2 separate regions of the Homo sapiens genome follow, and region 1 is linked to region 2. The links are contacts of gene promoters, found by promoter capture Hi-C in human tissues and cell types (Jung and others, 2019). All regions are on one chromosome and are shown on one strand. Each heading gives the region's core, a stretch centred on a gene start or on the middle of the fragment in contact. The rest is flanking DNA. Distances are from core to core; before and after follow the strand shown.

Region 1 (7,052 bases), core at 132-2,631, 47 kb before region 2:
CAAGTCCTGCAGCAGAAGTTCTGCCGTGAATGGAGGTGTATTCCGTTCAACCTTCTTCCACTTCCCCAAAGGCTTCTGCCTGGTTACCACTCCTTCACAATCCAGCCCCCCTGCTCCCCACCCCAGCAGGCAAGGAACACTTAATAAACAGGTGATATGAACCAAGCAGATGAGTGCTGGGCCTTGGCCTCTTGTTCATGAGTTCATCTAGACTGGATTCTGTATGTTAATCAGGTCCTTAGCTTTCTCCATTTTCATTCCCCAGTCAGATGGCCTCAGCCTTGTGGTGTGTGTTTTCTTTATTGTGAATTTACCGTCATTTCTACTTCTAATTCAACTTAGAGTAATTTCTCTTAGCTCCCTTGAATCCTTTCTTCCAATCTCCCTGGCCAGCCCCTTGGTTCTAGGTAAAACTCTACCTCTCAGCTGTCTGAACTCGGACTCAGTGGTTTCCCTGGATTCCTCCCAGCAGCAGCCTTTTCCAGACCCATTTTGTCTGTCTGAATACATTTCCCCCAGAGAGGTGGTTTGTCAGACTTATTTTTAGCTGCGGAAAAACCCTTTGTTGAAATGAAAGCCTTATATATGAAGCAGGCGGGATGGCGCTGTTTGGGGAGGTTGTAGAGCTCCACCAGATGAGTGTTTGTCCCCCATGGCCCCTTTTGACCCAGTTTGAAAAGCATTGCTCTGCAGACCCCTCTCGTTTTAAATCTTGCCTTGCTGATTTGCCTGTCCTTAGTTAACTGTCTCCTTTCCTGATGGCTTCTTCTAGCACCTTAAACAGCATGAAGCATTCTTTCTCTCTCTGCACTTCCCTCATGCCCTCTGAAGGTCACATTTTTCCAAAAAAGCAAAACACTTTAACTTCCTCATCTTTGCCTAGTGGTGTCACCATGTGGGGCTTCCTCTCACCTGCTTGTATCCCACCTGTTCATGGCTGCAGAGATGGAGACCATGGTGATATGAGCTGGAGCTGGGTGGCCTCTCTGTAATGGGAGCATCTTGAAGTCCTCCACTTCTATAGATTGTAGCTGTTTGGTTACGGGACAGTTGACATATTTTTTTTCCAGATAATTTTTTTTCTTTTTAAGATGGAGTTTCACTCTGTCACCAGGCTGGAGTGCAGTGGCGGGATCCATGCTCACTGCAACCTCCACCTCCCAGGTTCAAGCAATTCTCCTGCCTCAGCCTCCAGAGTAGCTGGGATTACAGGTGCACACCACCATGCCCAGCTAATTTTGTATTTTTAGTAGAGATGGGGTTTTGCCATATTGGCCAAGCTGGTCCCAAACTCCCGATCTCAGGTGATCTGCCTACCTCAGCCTCCAGAAGTGCTGGGATTACATCCATGAATCACCGTGCCCGGCCCCCCTTTTTTTTTTTTTTTTTTTTAAGAGACAGGGTCTCACCCTGTACCCAGGCTGGAGTGCAGTGGCTTGATCATAGCTCACTTCTGTTTCAATCTCTCAGGCTCAAGTGATTCTCCTGCCTCAGCTTCTTGAGTAGCTGTGGCTACAGGAGTTCACCACTATACCCAGCTAATTTTTAAAATTTTTAGTAGAGATGAGATATCTTTATGTCTTCTGGGCTGGTCTAGAACTCCTGGGCTCAAGCCATCTTTCTGCCTTGGCCTCTGAAAGTGCTAGGATTACAAGTATGAGCCACTGCACCTGGCCCAGAGAATTCTTTTTGGCCACAACTACGTTAAAAGAGCAGAATGCTTCCACCTGGGAGAGGCCCAGGGTTCTAGGGGAGGCCATGGGCAGAATCTTTGAATAAGTTTCGTGGAGCTCCTTGTAAAGCTGCTGTCAATGCCCTGTCCTTAGACCCTCTGGGCCAGGCTTGGAGTGGGGTCTGCTCCCCTGCTGGCAGTTCTGGACCATAGAGTTGCTGCAGGGATCCCTGTGGACTCAGGGACTGGAGACCTGTGGGTGTCTCTGGCCCATTCCCTGAGGGCACCCTGGACCTCATGAAACTTGAGGCTTACATTTCCAGGTCACTCACTTGCTTGTGTCCCTTCTAAGTCCTGTTCTTTTCTCATTCTAAATAAGTAATTACGTCCATATCTAATTTTGTCTTTATAACTGTGTATTCTTTTAAATTAAAAAAAAATTTTTTTTTGAGACGGGGTCTCGCTTTGCCACCCTGGCTGGAGTGCAGCGGCGAAATCTCAGCTTGCTGCAGCCTGGATCTCCTGGGCTCAAGTGATCCTCCCACCTCAGCCTCCCAAGTAGCTGGGGCTACAGACCTGTGCCACCACACCCGGCTAAGTTTTTAATTTTTCATAGAGATGGGGGTCTCACTATGTCGCCCAGGCTGGTCTGGAACCCCTGGGCTCAAGCAATCCTCCCACCATGGCATCCCAAAGTGCTGGGATTACACATGTGAGCCACCATGCCATGCCAGTGTATTCTTTTCCTAAAAGAAAGCCTTCCAAATCCCACAAGCTTTAGGCTCCACAAAACCTGGCTGCATCCCTGAGAACCCTGGATTCAGGACTGTCTCAGGGAACCCAGGGACTCATGGGCTAGGCGTGCCTCTTCTATGAAAAAAGGCAGAGATTCTCATTTCCAGGGCTTTCCAAGGTGTCCCTGGTGCTCTGTCTCCAGGACATCCATGCTAAATGCTCTGGTAGAAGGCAGGGAGGCATCCTGCAGCATGAGGGTACACTGTGGAATTCCGAGGCACAGGACAGCTATAAACCCATGAGGCCAGGGAAGGGCTGCTTTCTGCTGGCTGTTCCTTCTGTGCCACATGGCTCCCTGTACCCAGCCTCAGTACAAACTCTTGCCAATCTTTCTGGCACGCATAAGAAAATTGTTCCTTCTCTCTAGGCTAACTTTTCCATCAGGCCAGGACTCCTGATCTAGGCCTCAACCTGGCAGCACTGCCATGAGACTGTAATTCCTCAATCTGGCTTTTAAGAATTCTGGTTTTCAAAATGGGAGAGTTTGCCTGCCAGCTGAGACATCTCGGGACTTTGGAATTCAGTAGGCTCTTCGAGTCTGTTCTTGTTTTGTATTGTTTCGGCAGTCATTGGGACAAGTCAGACCTCAAAGCCAGAAGTAACATGTGCTGCTTTAAAAATGTGCAGAAAGCCAGGCATGGTGGCTCACGCCTGTAATCCCAGCACTTTGGGAGGCCAAGGTGGGCAGATCACTTGAGATCAGGAGCTCAAGACCAGCCTGGTGAACATGGTGAAACCCCGTCTCTATTAAAAATACAAAAATTAGCTGGGCATGGTGGCGGGTGCCTGTAATCCCAGCTACTCGGGAGGCTGAGGCAGAAGAATTGCTTGAATCTGGGAGGCAGAGGTTGCAGTGAGCCGAGCTCAAGCCACTGCACTCCAGCCTGGGCAACAGAGCGAGACTCTGTCTCAATAAATTGATAAATAATAAAAATAAAAATGTGTAGGGACACTGCTGCTTACAGATTATGGATGAATGCTTCCCCACAGAACTTCTCTTTCTCAATTCCTAACAAAATCAAAGAAAGTAAATAAAACAAGGGAGTAAAATCTATTATCAGCAACCAACACAATAAACTTCCAAATTGACATCTAAAGAAAGACGTAGAGGATTCTGGAGTGGCAAGGAATGGCACCACACGTCTCTGCTCCCTACCCTGTCCCGAGTGCCCAGAAATGGACCAAAACCTGAACATTCTTCCTATGGCTCCTGAATCTGAAAGGAAGCAGATGTGAGTCATGCCCTGTCTTCTTCCTCTTCTGAATGAGCTGTATTAAAAAGCATGCCGGGGGGAGATGGGGAAGCAGGGAGCACGAGCCACCAAGCTGACTTGGCTGATGGAAATAAAGTCTCCAGAACAACACTCCCCATGGGGAAACTGATCCTGAGTTCTGCCCCTTCCTCAGAAAAGGTGTATAGAGTCCTGCTTTCCACCCCAGTTAGGTGGCATGAGCCCGTACAGGACATTAAAAAGGCTCTCAGGACAGGAGCATGCTGAGGCATTCCAACAAAGACCACAGGCTGCTTCAGCTCAGCTGTCCCATCCAGACTACCAAAAAGTGTAGAGAACCTAAATACTCAGCCTTCTGCTTAGCTCAGAGGGAAAAATAGGGTCTCAAACAGTGGGGAGACGTCAGTAAGCTCTTCTCCCTGCTGCTGTGTTACAGTGGCATAAAGAAGGTCTGGACAGAGCCACCAAACCAGAAAGAAAAGAAATGGATGCAAACACATGGCAGCAAAATATTAATGATAAATAAGGGGAAAAACAGAGAGCGAAAGATGAGGGCTCCTCCCCACCCCTAAAAAAACTTAAGGAATTTCTTGCAACTGCTTCATATTATGAAATGACTTAAGAATGTGAATTTAATAAAGTGGGGGCTCAACGATAGGATGCTAGAACACAAGAATGGGATGGAAAGGCAACAAGTTGAGGACAAAAACATATTATTATAGACAAACAAATTAGAACTAACAAGAAAGAGAATGGGCCCCATTGAAACTCAAATTACTGAATTAGGGCAGCTAAACTAGGCAAAGAGATTAAAGCAATTAGAATTAGTAGAAATGAAAGACAGACAAAGCTGATCTGATATAAAAATTAATTAAAATCCCTGAAGAAGGAAAACCAGAAACAGAACCAAAAGAGAATTCCTTTAATGGAGAAACAAACAGGTAAATTTCAAAACTAAAGCTGCAGATTGAAAGAACACACTATATTCCAGAAAAGCTTGATTTGAAATGTTTACTACTAAGACATCTTAGTTAAGTTATTGAACCTAAAAAAAAGATGAAGAGTGACTTCTTTAGGCATTCAAGCAGAAAAAAATGTCTCCTATAAAGGGGAAAATTCAGGCTGGCCTCAGGCTTCTTCCCAGAAGAAAAAGAGGCAAAACCTACCACATTCAGTGGGAAAGATGAGACTCAAGGATATTATACCCAGCCAAGATATGGTTCCAGTATCGAGGCACAGACAGATACTGTTAAACATCGAAAATACTTCCTGGAAAAACAGCTTAACGATTAATTTAGTCCATGAAGAGATGAACAAAAATAAAGAACTTGCAAATGGAAAAAAAAGCCTTGGTAAGAAGACTAACGATGACCATTGAATTCATTTTAATTCAGAATATTTATCAACTAACTATGAAGTTATGTTTACAAAACAGAATATGAGTGTTATAAACATGGATAATGTAACAATAATATGTAACTAAACTTAGGAAGCAGGTCAGTCAGAGATGGAAAGAATCATGAGAGCGAATTTTTCAAAGCAATGAACACACTGAACACACATACACACACACACACTCATATGTCACTGAAATGTGCATTTTAAGAAAATAACTCTAACCTCAGTGTTTTTTACAATTTTTGTTTAACCTCAGAGGTATCTTTTAGGAAGTAATATCTCTTGTGGTCAAGAAACATTCTTTGAAGTTCAACTCTTTCTTCAGTTTCAACTTCTTTGTCTTCTTTTAAATTCAAGTAAAATTAAGTACTTTTAATTTAAATAGCATCTGTATTATGGCCCAGATTCCTATAAAGTATCTCTATTATCTTTCCTCCTATCAGTAAATATACATAGAAAGTTTTCTGGAATGATATAAATGTAGTGTTCATGATGGTGATTTCTGAGTGGTGGGATTGGGATAATTTAATATTCTCTGTATTCAAATTATTTAAAATGTACATATATCACTTAAAAACATGAAATTTTTCTTTAAAAGGGGTGGAAGGCTAAGAAATTATCTGTGGCTGATTCTGTTGGTGTATGGCTGATTATTTTCTTGCTTGTCATTTTTTATATTTTAATTTTCTAATAAACAAAAATTTCATAGTATTAGAAAAAAAGATTTTCAGGCATCTCACTGGAACGGATAGTCCAGAAACAGACTTGGCAGAGATGGCTGCAGCCTCCCAACATCTGCTCTCCTCTAACATTTTATGGACTTTTTAGCTGTGCACATGATAGCCAGAATAAAGACCCCATTTTCCAGCTCTGGCCAATAGCATGTAAGCAGAAGTGCCACATGGCAGCTTCTGGAATCCTCTGAGAGTTGGCTCATTTGCACTGTATTACTATCATTGCCTCTTGCTGCCTGGAATGCAGATATCACCATATTGGACCATGAGAGCAAGACCACGTAAGGCCAAGCAACAAGAAGAAAGTGTGCGTAGAGAGTCACATAAGCCCTGGACTACCTACCTGGACAATGTAAGAAAGGAAGACATTTCTATCTTGTTGAAGCAGCTGAACATAATCCTAACTGATGCACAACCTGCACACACATACAGAAATGTCGTCTGTGATACCATTTGCATTGTACATCAGAGGGGAAAGATGAAACAACTGGTTTGGCATACACATACACAAATTGCCTAGATGTGAAGGAGTTAAAAAAAAGTTTTTAAAGAAAATTTATTCTTTTCTCACAAACACAATATCTTTGTGAAGTTAGGGAAGGGTCTTTATTTTTAGAAGCCAAAGTAAAAATAATAAATAAAATAACAAGTACACTTGACAACATCAAAAATTTAAACTTCTACATGACAAAAGAAAGTATAAACAAAAGTAAAAGACAAGCAAGAGGCCTGGAGGGCAGCATTTCCTGAAGCGAAGTCTTGTCATGTTCAAGTTCAGTGTGGTGCTGGGTATGTATGCAGGGTAGAGACAAGGGGCAACAAAGTGTGGGTAGAGCTGTATATTCCCCTTTCTTTTGCACAGAAAATGCATATTAGCTGATCAAAAGCTGAGGACTTCTACAGAACCCTGTCTGTGTATGGAACTCAGCATTCCCCAGTTATTTGACGGTGAGACCAATCTTTTTGTGGTAAAATCTATGAACTAACCTCTAGGTGTATACGAAACACTCAGAAATGCTGCCATAAGAAATAACACTTTGCCATGTGAGAAATGATCGTTATATTCACCTTTTGAGCCCTCATAGATAATTCTCACTCTTTTATAAGTTCTGACCAGCAGCAGCATAAAATGAGAGAAATTTCGGCATTGTGGAATAGGAGGAAATTCTCCTGTTTACTCCTACAGAGCAGAGTGAATATATCCCAAAAGAAGGAAGTCAC
Region 2 (6,869 bases), core at 439-2,938:
GGTTGCAGAGAGCAAGGGGGAGTGGCTTATGAGTACAGAATGTCTTTTTGGAATGATAAAAATGTTCTAGGTTATGGTTGCACAACTCCATATATAGTAAGAACTATTGACTTGTACAATTTAAATCGGTGATTGTATGGTATGGTGTGTAAATTATATCTCAGTAAAGCTTGTATGTGTGTATATATAAAATATTGAATGGTGATAGGTACTATGGAGAAATATAAAGTGGGGAGGGAAAAAAAGAAGAGTTTGGGCTGAAGGTTGAAATTTTAAATAAGGAAATCATGTTAGGGTTCACTGGGGTTATGTGAACAAAGACTTTCTGGAGGAGGTGAGTGGTCAGGTGGTTTTTTAGGGAAAGAGCTGTCTAGGCTGCCTGGGTTTGGACCTGGGCTCTGCCATTGTTTATATGTATGACCTTGGAAAAGTTATTTAATGGTCCTGTGCCTCAATTACTTTATCTGTAAAATAATAATAAATAGTATCTATTTCAAAAGGTTATTGTGTGGATTAAATGAATTAAAAAACGAAAGCATGTAGAACAGTACACTGGCACTATGTAAAATGCTTTATCTTTATTTCTATCAGTTCCTACTGCAAGCTCACAGCCCTTGCATGCTAAGATGGAAGCACGACGGGAATGTTGGATGAAGCAAGGAGGCCAGGTGGGGCTGGTGCAGAAGAAGCAAGAGGGAGGATTGTAGGGCTTGTGGCTTTAGCTTTGTAAGATGGGAAATCAATGGAGGGTTTTGAGCAGAGAAAAGAGAAGATCTGATTCATGTTTTAGCACCAGCACTCTGGCTCCTGTCCAGCACACTGAAAAGGGACAAGGACACACAATCAAGGAAACCAGTTCTGAGCGATTGTAGTAATGCACGTGAGAGACGATGGTGGTGGTAGAAGTGGCCAAATTCTGGTTCCACTACAAAGATAGATACAACAGGCTGTATTTAAAGATAGAATATTGTGTATGAAAGAGACTGCAATTTTGACCTGAGCAGTTGTCGGAATTAAGCTCCCACATATTGAGATGAAGAAAGTCTGAGAGGGATGAGAGAGAGCCCTTTTAAATTTTTTGATGGGGGTGGAGTGGGTAGTGGGGCGATTGATGGGGGATCAAGATTTCAATTCTGGACATGATTAACTTGAAATGCCCATTACACATTCAAGTGGACTAGAAAGAGGATGGACGGATCACTGGTTCTTTGACCAACACGTATAAAAATCCCACTCTGTGCCAGGCTCTGTGTGGGCTCTGGAGATAGATGTGAGAATACTAACAATCTCCTTAAGAGAGCTCACTTTCTAATGGTAAGACAGGTCATGAGGAAGTTAGCAATCAAGCGAGGTCAGGTAGGTAAGGTCTTCAATTCTTCGGATGAGACAAAATGTACAATTGCTATTACTGATTTTAATATTCCGGGTATTGCAAGGGCCAGAAGACGGGCCTAAGAGCAGCTCCTCCTCCCAACCCCGGGCTGCCAGGTTACCTCCGCCTCAGTGCGTGCCACATTTCTAGCGCAGCAGAATGGCAGCATTGCGCACGCGCGGCCTCAGTCTGGCGTCCTAGGAGATGGACTCGGAAAGCCTCCGCGCAGGCGTAATTCAAGGGCCGAGAGAGCCTGAGACTGGGCTTGGGGCGGGGCGAGCTCGGAATGCGGCTGCGCACTGGGCGCTCTCGCCCGAGAAGCCGCAGTCTCGAGAGCGTCAACGAGGTGTTTCGGTAGTCTCTGGCCATCCTTTCTGCGCACCCGGTGTCGCTGGGCTGCACCCCGGGCGGGGACGTCCGCCGGGCACGGGAGGGGGCCAAGATGCCGGTGAGGAGAGTCGCTTCGCTTCTGGGGTTTCTTCTCATCCTAGCGGCCTGGCCCGGGGGCGCGGCCGTTGCCATGGAGGCGCGGAGCCGGCAGGCGGCCTGGGTGGGGCGGGGCAGGCTCGGTCGTGCGGTGGAGGTGGTTGGAGAGCCTGGCTGGTCAGCCCCGGGGCCGCGGGGGTCCGGCCGGCCTCGACAGGGACCTGGGGTCAGGCCCTGCCGCCCTCGTCGCTGCTGCATCCCGTGGGGCCTGCGCCGCTTATCAAAAAGGCGCTGTGCTGGAGGATGCGCTCTGGCTCGCAGCCCTTCCTGCTGAGCGGGGCGTCTGGGGGTGGCCACGGTGGGGCTCTTTGGATGCTGCACACCTGGTGAGGCCTTTGCGCCTCGGAGCAAGCGCAGGGAGGCAGCGGAGCGAAGGCTGCCTGCCCCTATTCCAGGCCCCATACTCCGAGTCTCCTAGCCTTGAGCTGTCATTGCTCTTGTGGCGCTTTAGCTTATGATGCAGAATGAAACCCGTAGGTGTCTTTGTGTGTGTGGCGGTGTTATGTTTATCTTCCAGGATTTCACAGATTGTTATCGTGAACTTAATAATGGGGCCTTCTAAGACCCCTTATTAGGGGTCATGGAGGAAAATTGAGCCATGGCCGCTTATTTAGTGGTTGTGAGGCCTCGGATAATTATTTAATCTGTCTGGGTCCTTAGTTCCCATGTAAACTTTACCTCATGGGGTTGTTATCCGCGTGAAATAATACACAGGAGACTAGAAGGACAGTGCTTGACATTTAAGATTAAATGCTCTATATTTGTTCTGTTCACTGCTTTCAAGTTTTAATTCAGTAAATATTGGGCACCAACCACATGCTAGGCCCTGAAGATACAACATTGAGCAACACCAGTCAGGTTCTTGAACTTGGAAAGAGAGAGGCTTGCCTTCTTGGGCAGAGGTGAAAATCATACATATTTACAGACGTAAGACACAAAACCTTAATAATGAAGTGGGTGGGTATCCTACAATAGAGAGAAGTAGATTCTGGTGAATTGGAATGTATTGCCATGTAAGAATGATGGTCTGCAGATGATAACAGGTCATTTTTTTTCCTCCCAAGAAGAGACTTTAGAAATTATTTTTGTGAAATTTCTCAATTTTAGCAACTAATTCAAAAGCTCTTTAAATACTATGAACCAAACAAAAGAAATTTGTGGGCTGAATTCAGCCTCTTGACTACCTGTTTGCAACCTCTGGTGTAGACAGAAAGACATTAATCAAATAAGGAACAAGCAAAAGTAAAATTTGTGTCCAGGAAGGGGAGAGCAGGGTGCTCTCTGAGCCTATAAGAGTATTTGACCTAGTCAGGAAGTCTTCCCAGGTGAAGTGGCTGTTGAGTTCTGAAGGATAAGTAGATGTTAACTAAGTGAAGAGGGGATTGAAGATGGTTCTAGGTAGAAGGAACAGCACATGGAAAGGCCAGTGGTGAGGAGCATGGTGACAAGAAAAGGCCAAGCAGCTCAGTGTGGCTGTGGCATGGATGAGCCAGGCAGAATATCTTGTGAAATAAGCCCAGTGAAGCAGACGTGGGTGGAAGCCAGACCTTACAGACCACCTTAAGGATTCTGGTTTTTGTTCTGAGATCTATGGGAAACCACTGAAGAATTTTTAAGTAGGAGAGTGACATGATTAGATGTGTGTTGACACTGACTGCTATTTGGAGAATAGGCAGTAGGGCAATCTGATTAGATTCAGGAGTATAGTTAGGAGGCAGTAATCCAGGGCCAAGATGATGGTGATTTAGACTAGGGTGATGAATAGATGAGAGGAATAGGATGAGAGATAGATAGAAGTGTATTGTACTGATATAATCTGTTACTTGTCAGTGACAATGTCAGAGTCAATGACAATGACTCATATTTGTTTCTCTTCAATGCTTAGAAGAGAATCTGAAACAGTAGGAATTTAACAAGTATCTGTTCAACTAAACTGTCCTTTTCACTTCAATAATAGGATTGTGTTTCATTATATTTTCTTAATCATAAAATTTCAGAAATGACGGGGTGCGGTGGCACATGCCTGTAATCTCAGCACTTTGGGAGGCCGAGGTGGGTGGATCACTTGCGGTCAGGAGTTCGAGACCAGCCTGGCCAACATGATGAAATTCCGTCTCTACTAAAAATACAAAAATTAGCTGGGCATGGTGATGGACGCCTGTAATCCTAGCTGCTGGGGAGGCTGAGGCAGCAGAATCGCTTGAGCCTGGGAGGCAGAGGTTGCAGTGAGCTGAGATCACGCCACTGCACTCCAGCCTGGGTGACAGGGTGAGACTGTGCCTCATAAATAAGAAAAAAAAAATTCAGAAATGGAAACTTTACATATACAAATGCTTATAAGGTTAGGTAATACTAAGGCATTTTTCTTTGCCATTAGACTTTCATTTCTGTCTTTATCTTATTATTGTTTTCTGTAGAGAAGATAAGCCATATATGGATATATTACATGATAAAAACCATTTTACAGATGCGTGATAGGAAATAAAACTAAAGTCTCAGGGGAAACAAAGGACCTACTATTTTCTTGAGTTAAAGTTGTTAACCATGTTCACATGTGTTTTCCTACAGGCAGGAAACGCTGGGTCAGAGACTTTTGTGCAAAAAGATGATCTATAATATACTGGTTCAGTTTCTGCTTGTACAGCCTTTGCCACAAATGTGAACTAGCTCTTCTCTCCCTTTTACATTTTAAAAGAAACGATTTTCCTTTTTGTATCTTTTAATAAACTTTTCAGCTATATGTAAGATCTTTAATTGCATTTAACAAATACCTGTGAAGTGTTTAATGTGTGCAAGGCACTGAGTTGGAAAAGTAGCCTTTTAAAGTTTATAAATTTAATCTGATGAGGGTAAAAATTAATGTTCTTTTCATTATTTGTAAATATTATCTCCAACAGATCAATAAATCAGAGAAGCCAGAAAGCTGCGATAATGTGAAGGTTGTTGTTAGGTGCCGGCCCCTCAATGAGAGAGAGAAATCAATGTGCTACAAACAGGCTGTCAGTGTGGATGAGATGAGGGGAACTATCACTGTACATAAGACTGATTCTTCCAATGAACCTCCAAAGACATTTACTTTTGATACTGTTTTTGGACCAGAGAGTAAACAACTTGATGTTTATAACTTAACTGCAAGACCTATTATTGATTCTGTACTTGAAGGCTACAATGGTAAGTGAATCTTTACTTTTTAAAAAACTCCCTTATTGAGACATAATTACTGTGCCATAAATTCACATATTGCAGCTGTGCAGTTTGATGAGTGTAGTAAATATATACAGTTGTGAAACCATCATCACAATCCAGCTTTAGAACACCCTTGTCATCCTCAAAATTTCCTTTATGCCCATTTGCAGACCCACCCCCAAGCAACTATTGATCTGCTTTCTGTCACTATAATTTTGCCTTTTCTTGAAATGTCATATAAATGATGTCATATAATATGTCACCTTTTTTATCTGTTTTCTTTCACATCAAATAATGTTTTTGAAGTTTATCCTGCTAGGATTTTCATAGGGATTGTGTTGAATTGTCATTCTGACAATATTGAGTCTTCAGTCCATGAACATGATACTTCTCTTCATTTAAAACGTTGAAACATTAATGAATTATGGACAGGGTCTTGCTCTGTTGCCCAGGCTGGAGTGCAGTGGTGCAGTCATAGCTTACTGCAGCCTTGAACCTGGGCTGAAGCTATCCTCTCACTTCTGCCTCCTGAGTAATGAGAACTACAGCTGTGCGCCACCACACCTGGCTCATTTTTTTGTTTTTGTAAAGACTGGGTCTTGCTGTGTTGCTCAGTCAGGTCTTGAACTCCTAGGCTCAAGCAATCTCCTACTGAGGCCTTTCAAAGCCCTGGGATTTCCCATGTCAGCTACCATGTCCAGCTTCTCTCCATTTATTTATATCTTAATTTCTCTCATCTGTATTTTGTAGCTTTTAGTGTACAAGTATTGCACTTGTTTTGATTAATTTATTCCTAAGTATTTTTTTGATGCTATTGTGAATAGGATTGCTTTCATAATTTCAATTTTGGATTGTGTGTTACTAATATATAGAGATGAAATTGATTTCTTTAGGTAGCTTTTGTGATAAAATTCAAATATCAAATTTATGATTTTAACCATTTTACACTTTATAGTTCATAGGTACATTTACAATGTCGTACAGCTGTCACCGCTGTCTGTTTCCAGAACATTTCTATCACTCCAAAAAGAAACCCTGTATCCATTAGCAGTCAGTCACTCCCAATCCATTACCACCTCCCTTCCCCCAACCCAGCAACTACTAATTTACTGTCTATATCTATTCTATGAGTTTGCCTATTCTGGACATTTTCTATAAATGGAATTATATGCTATGTGGCCTTTTGTGAATAACTTCTTTCACTTACAGTGTTTTCAAGCTTCATCCCTATTGTAACATATAAACATATATCAGCAATTCATTACTTTTTTTTTTTTTTTGGAGACGGAGTCTTGCTCTGTCGCCCAGGCTGGATTGCAGTGGCGTGATCTTGGCTCACTGCAACTTCTGCCTCCTGGGTTCAAGCGATTCTCCTGCCTCAGCCTCCTGAGTAGCTGGGACTACAGGCGCCCGCCAACACACCCAGCTAATTTTTTGTGTTTTTAGTAGAGACGGGGTTTCACCGTGTTAGCCAGGATGGTCTTGATCTCCTGACCTTGTGATCCGCCTGTCTCAGCCTCTGAAAGTGCTGGGATTACAGGCGTGAGCCACTGCACCTGGCTGATTTTTGTATTTTTAGTAGAGACGGGGTTTCACCATATTGGCCAGGCTGGTTTTGAACTCCTGATCTTGTGATCCACCCGCCTCGGCCTCCCAAAGTGCTGAGATTACAGGCGTGAGCCATTGCACTAGGCCAGCAATTCATTATTTTTTATGTCTGAATAATATTGTATAGATATATCATATTTTGTTTATCCATTTATTAGTTGGTGAACATTTGTTGTTTCTACTTTTTAGCTATTACAGATAATGTTACTTTGAACAT

Evidence for each region. The method cuts DNA at HindIII sites, captures the fragments that hold promoters and counts their contacts. A contact is called where the count stands out against the background at its distance.
Region 1: a fragment that was not itself captured here is called in contact with the fragment with the promoter of KIF3A in region 2 in 3 of the 25 tissues and cell types used here (lymphoblastoid cells, neural progenitor cells and thymus).

The regions. Positions count from the first base shown.
Region 1 is chr5:132,779,078-132,786,129 of GRCh38, reverse strand. It overlaps a transcript of SEPTIN8 not described here. Among named protein-coding and RNA genes, the nearest start is that of SEPTIN8, 5.4 kb to the right of the region's middle. The HindIII fragment of the contact is 4,380 bases long and covers 1-3,571 here.
Region 2 is chr5:132,732,365-132,739,233 of GRCh38, reverse strand. KIF3A (kinesin family member 3A) reads left to right here and starts at 1,688. Exons shown (of 19, transcript NM_001300791.2): 1 at 1,688-1,820; 2 at 4,756-5,029. The coding sequence starts at 1,815. RefSeq lists a silencer at 1,824-2,133 and an enhancer at 2,284-2,383. The HindIII fragment of the contact is 7,994 bases long and covers 1-3,216 here.